Regions from separate parts of the Homo sapiens genome. Here region 1 is linked to region 2. The links are contacts of gene promoters, found by promoter capture Hi-C in blood cells and fetal thymus (Javierre and others, 2016). All regions are on one chromosome and are shown on one strand. The core of a region is centred on a gene start or on the middle of the fragment in contact, and the rest is flanking DNA. Distances in the headings are between cores, read along the strand shown.

Region 1 (2,892 bases), core at 389-2,888, 90 kb before region 2:
AAACATCACTGTAGCCGGGGACGGCGTGCATGGCTGGGCCATTCTGCTCAGCGGTGTCTGTGCAGGTTCAGTAATTAACCATGTTTATTACCAGCCCTGCTTATATGTGAAGATCTTTGTCAGCCAGGCCTGATGGCACGTGCCTATGGTGCCAGCTACTGGAGAGGCTGAGGCAGGAGGATCGCTTGAGTCCAGGAGGTCAATGCTCCAGCCTGGCAACAGAGCGAGACCCTGCCTCAAAAAAAAAAAAAAAAAAAAAATCTTTGATGCTATACTTCTGTGAGTCTTTGGGCCTGTGAGCTGTAGTTCTGTGACTAACTTTCTTGTACTCTAAGGTTTGAAGTGTCCAGATATACTGAACCTTTACCAAGTGTCTCTGTACAGCGGCCTTTGTGTCTATGGCACATGGATAGAACTCAGAAGTTCGTAAAGGGAAAAGGGAGTTGGAAAGAGTGAAAGGTGGAGGGGACAGGCTTCCCAAGCCCACTGTGACCCCCTCCCTCCACAGCACCTCCTGCTTCCAAAATGCAAAGTTCCAGGTACCTTAACATCTGTGACGCATTCATCCTCCAAACCCCGCAGGGTGCCAGGGGAGAGAAGGGGCCCCAGCTCCCCATTCTCCAGGGCGGCCATGTCCACCAGCCCTAGGACCTCTCTGGGGATGGGGGTGAGAGAAAAGGAGGTCTGTGAAAAGTGGGGCTGGGCAGTTGGAACCTTCCCCACACCCTCCTACCCACTGTTTCTGTGACCCTGGGCCACTCCCTTCCTCTCTCTAAGTCATCTCTGCTCATCCCTCAGAGGAAGTCTTTGGAATTGTTGCTTCCCCGGCTCCAGCTCTCTGAGTCAGCTCCCTGATGGATGGTGTCCCGGCATGATATTTAGGGGTCAAGTCCAGGCTTGAAGATCTGACATGCAAGGCTTCACCCATGATCCATTTCACCAGACAGAAGTTCCCTTTGCACCTATGCTCTGAGGCCCTGCTGCCTTACCTGGCCTTGGAGGCTTCCCCAGTCCAGCCCTCTCTCCCCACCTTCTACGAGCTTACATGCCTGGAGCTATGTGATATCATCAATATCCACCCCCAAACACCCCAGACTTGGGCTCATGGCATCCTCTCAATTATAAACACCATTGCCCTACAAATTGGACCAAACCCAGTTCCCACCACTTTAGGAAGCTTTCCGGACTCCCTATCCTGCCTCCATCCCTTATAGATAACATGAGAGCATTATTGACATACATTCCCAAATGAGATCTATGTGGTCAATGTGGGTATCTGTTGCCTTCCCAGTCTTCCGGTGACAGCATCCTGATTTTGTTGGAAGAACCACCCACCCCCTTCACTGTCCAACGTGTGGCTTGGATGTGGCTAACTCCCTTTTCTCTGGGGTAGACAGGTGACCTGGAGGTGGCTAATCACCATAGTCCATCCCCCGGCCACAAGAATGGGTATGTTTTAGGACACAAAGTCTCAACAGTAATAAGATTCTAGGACTGAGAGGGACCATGGTACTGAGGTTCTGGGTGCTACCCTTATAGAATTCAAGGGGCAAACAGCACTCAAGTCCTAAAACTGGCCCGGGCATGGTGGCTCACACCTGTAATCGAAGCACTTTGGGAGGCCAAGGTGGGTGGATCACTTGAGGTCAGGAGTTCGACACCAGCCTGGCCAACATGGTAAAACCCCGCCTCTACTAAAAATACAAAAAAATTAGGCCGGGCACAGTGGCTCATGCGTGTAATCCCAACACTTTGGGAGTTCGAGGCAAGTGGATCACCTGAGGTTAGGAGTTCAAGACCAGCCTGGCCAACATGGTGAAACCCCGTCTCTACTAAAAATACAGAAATTAGCTGTGCATGATGGTGGGCGCCTGTAATCCCAGCTACTCGGGAGGCTGAGGCAGGAGAATCACTTGAACCCGGGAGGCGGAGGTTGCAGTTGGCAGAGATTGCAGCACTGCACTCCAGCTTGGGCGACAGAGCAAGACTCCGTCTCAAAATAAATAAATAAATAAATAAATAACGTCCTAAAACTAGAAGGATCAACAGTGTTGAGGTTCTAAGACCAAAAGAGGGAATGAGGCTAAGGTTTAGGATTCAAAGCTTCATTGGTACTAAGCTTCTATGGTTGCACCATACATTCTAAGTTCTAAGATTGGAAACGTCAACAGTACTAATGCCCTAGGCTCTAAAGAGAAAGCAGTGTAGGATTCTAGAATTCTAAGTGTCATTGTATTAAGGTGAAGGGTCAGTGGGGCTATGGTTCTAGGAAGGAATGGTCAACAGTGCTAAAACTCTAAGACTGGAAGGGTGAACAGCTAAGATTCTAGTAGCGTAAGTGTCATGAAGCCCAGGTTCTTGGACTGGTGGGCCCACCGTGCTGAGCTACTAGGATTGAAACTGTCGATAGTGCTAAAATTGTAGAACTGGAAGAGTCAATGGTGCCAATAGGTTCTAGGTCTGAAAGGGTGGGAATGCTAGGATTCTAAGACTGGAAGCATCAGTGTTACTTAGATGCTAGGAGTGTAACTGTCGATGATGCTAAGGTTGTATGTAGGTCTAGAAGAATGAATGGTGTTGAGATTTTAGGAACGGAAAAGTAGCAACGCAAAGGTTCTAGGACTAGAGGAATCAATGGTGCTAAGATTCGGGGACTGGAAGGGTGGACAGCGAGGCGATCTAGAGTGTAAGTGTTGACAGAGCGCTGAGGTTTTTGGACCACAGTGGTGCCGGAGCTCTTATTCTAGGACTGCAAGCGTCCATGGTACTAAGGTGCTGGAACCGGAAGCCTCGGTAGCAGTGAGAGTCTAGGATTGTAACTGTCAGCGGTGCTGACGACTGGATGGGTTAATGGTGTTAAAGTGCTAGGACTGTAGGGTCAGCTGTCCCAAG
Region 2 (2,700 bases), core at 11-2,510:
TGTTATTTGTTATTACTACTTTTTTGCAGAGATGGGGTCTCACTATGTTGCCCAGGCTGGTCTGGGACTCCTGGCCTCAAGTGATCCTCCAGCATCGGCCTCCCAAGATGCTGGGATTATGCGTGTGAGCCACTGCGCCAGGTCCTACTGTTATTATTATTTTATTCACTGGACCCAGAAAGGAGAAGGGACCCAGAAAGGAGAAGGGGCCTCCAGCAGCGGTGGGAGACGGGGATGGGAAGCAGGTGGGATTGTGGGAGGGAGATTGGGACCACGGTGAGCTGAAGCCAGGGAAGAGGAACAGGGACCCGCCAAAGACCTTGGGTGCTGCTGTCCAGGGTGGTTATTTTTAGAATCTGGCAACTGCCTGCCATCCCACCCCCAGCTGCTGCCCCGCCCCACCCCCACATTCCGGGGCTCGGCTTGCACCAAGTCAGCAGGCCCAAGACAGGTGGGCCAGGGTGGCTGGGAGGACACGGGTCCAGGCCTCGGGGCTCAAGGACATCCTGGGATGGCAGCCCAGACCCCCTCCCTTCAGAGGATGCCCCCCTAATCCCTGCCAGGGACACCCCAGGAGAGGGCACTGAGGCAGGGTGGTGACCCCCCCCACAAGAGACATAAGCAGAAAGCCCCAGAGCCACACACCCCCACCACCGCAGACTCCCCAGATCACACTGTAAACTAAGTCACACAGTCACACTTCCAAACTCAAGGACATGCCCAGGACACTCATGTGTCCGCTACTAAGTCAGAAACAAGGTCACAGGGACCCACACAGTAGCAAACGCAAAGAAAGCCTGCGACACCTGCTCTTGCAGACTCTGCTAGGCGACAGACACACCTCCCACGGCTTGTGGCGCCAGTGTTGGCGACAAACTGTAATGAACACAGGCCTGGCTCAACAGCCCCTTGCAGGGGGTGACAGTTGGCAGCTGTCAGGACCCCTTTCATCTCGGATCCCTCCCCATAACCCAAGACTTGTGCCGCAGAAATCACAGGTCCCAGTGGGGGGTTCAGGCAGCCTCACAGATGGAGGGGCCTCCCAGACACACAAGGGTCAACCTTCCCACGCACCGACCTGCCTTTGTATAGGAGGATGTTGGTGGAGCAAGGGGTGACACACAGACCCTTTCCCAAGCCAAGCCTCTAGCACCCACAGAAATCCCCTACTCTGGCCCCCACCCAGATTCCCGCCCCGTGCAGTACCTGGCTGGGCTGGGCTGAAGGGGGGCTGTCTGTATCCTGGAGGTGACACTGACCCAAAGGAAGGGCCAGCAGCCGTGGCCTTATATAGGGGGACCTAGGCTGTGCTATTGGCTGGGAGGGGTTGTCCCCAGGGAGGAGTTCTGGAGGGCAGCTGAGCCTCTCACCTCCCTGCTCCCGCACCATACCCACCCTGAACCCAGGCATGCTTTGCGCCCAGCCCCATGGCCTTGTATGGGCTGAGCCGCCCCAGGGGCTGGGCTCACGCCCCCCCACCAAGCTGATACCCTGACCAAGTGCTGAGTTGGGCTGGCGGTGGGGACAGCTGGCCCCCCGCCGGGAACATGGGACGGTGGCTGGGAACGTCCCAAGCACGTAGAAGCCACCGTCCCCTGGCCCCTGAGTCTCCTTCAGCCACCAGCCCTTCCTGTGGCCCTCGGCTCCCCCTGTGCCCCCTGGGCCCTCACCCCTACCCGAGTCCCAGCGGCACCTCGGGGAACCAAGGTGTGGCTCCAGGAGGAGCAGATACCCTGTGAGCTGGAGGAAGCAGAGGCCGGGAGAAGGACCAATTGCAATGGAGGGCAGTCTAACCCCAGAAACCCGCGCTTGGGCGCCCCTTCCTCCTAGGGACTGAGTGGAGGGGAAACTGAGGCTGGCTGAGTTGGAGAGATTCAAACTCAGGGCAAGGGTGGGAGGCGGTGGTCACCCTCCCCCCCACTTAACCCTCGCCCCCTCGGTGCCACTGGGAGATTTCCGCTGTGCGGGGGACAGGGAGGGTCTCGGTCGCCGGGAAAGGAGTTATTTTTAGAGGGCGCTTTGCTGTCTCCTCTGCCGCAAAGGCCGAGACCCGAGGCGCTGGGTATGGGGGGGTTCGGGGGCAGGTGTTGGAGGGGGGTTCGCCACGTGTCCTGGTTAATTATAACCGGGCGTCTCGGGTGTCCTCGGGCCTCGCCTCCTTACAAGGGCAGCCACGGGGCCCTGGGTGGCCGCTCCCACCTCCCGGGGAAGGGGGCTGGGCAGCGACGCCGTTCAGAGCGCGGGCGCCAGACTCGCGCAGATCTGGGCAGAGCAAGCGCTCTCGGCGCCTCGGCTGTGAGCAAGGACTTCCAGGGCTGAGAGGGGGGTTCTGTGGAGGAGAGTACAGTATAGAGGAAGCCGCTTTCTCCTCCTGGGACGCGCCAGGATTGCAGGCTGATCGGGTCTCCTCCTCCAGGGAGCTCCCAGGATTGCGACGAAGAAAAGAATGTCCCTTCCCTCTGAGTTCCTCCCTATCCCAGGGTCTCCTGGGTCTCCTTCACATCTTCTTAGGCAGGTGAGGACTGGCTTAGAGAAAGGGAGCCTCTGTGCCTCTCCCTCAGACTCCTGATCTGAGGGGGGAGGGGAGAGGGGTGCTTTAGAAATATTTACATGGGGCCCAGCCCTTTCCCAGCAAGCTCAGATTGCCGAGGGTCTCCTTCACGGTTACGGAAACTGAGGCCCAGAAAACCAAATGGAACT

The links. Contacts are between HindIII fragments. The CHiCAGO score rates a contact against its expected background, and 5 or more counts as called.
Region 1: a contact is called between a fragment that was not itself captured here and the fragment with the promoter of CKM in region 2, in 4 of 17 cell types (M1 macrophages, M2 macrophages, megakaryocytes and 1 more). The highest score is 6.9, in M1 macrophages.

The regions. Positions count from the first base shown.
Region 1 is chr19:45,231,220-45,234,111 of GRCh38, forward strand. EXOC3L2 (exocyst complex component 3 like 2) reads right to left here. Exons shown (of 12, transcript NM_001382422.1): 4 at 544-655. Among named protein-coding and RNA genes, the nearest start is that of EXOC3L2, 13 kb to the right of the region's middle. The HindIII fragment of the contact is 926 bases long and covers 1,176-2,101 here.
Region 2 is chr19:45,321,615-45,324,314 of GRCh38, forward strand. It overlaps CKM (creatine kinase, M-type), which reads right to left and starts at 1,261. Exons shown (of 8, transcript NM_001824.5): 1 at 1,207-1,261. RefSeq lists an enhancer at 1,985-2,227. The HindIII fragment of the contact is 13,711 bases long and covers 1-2,700 here.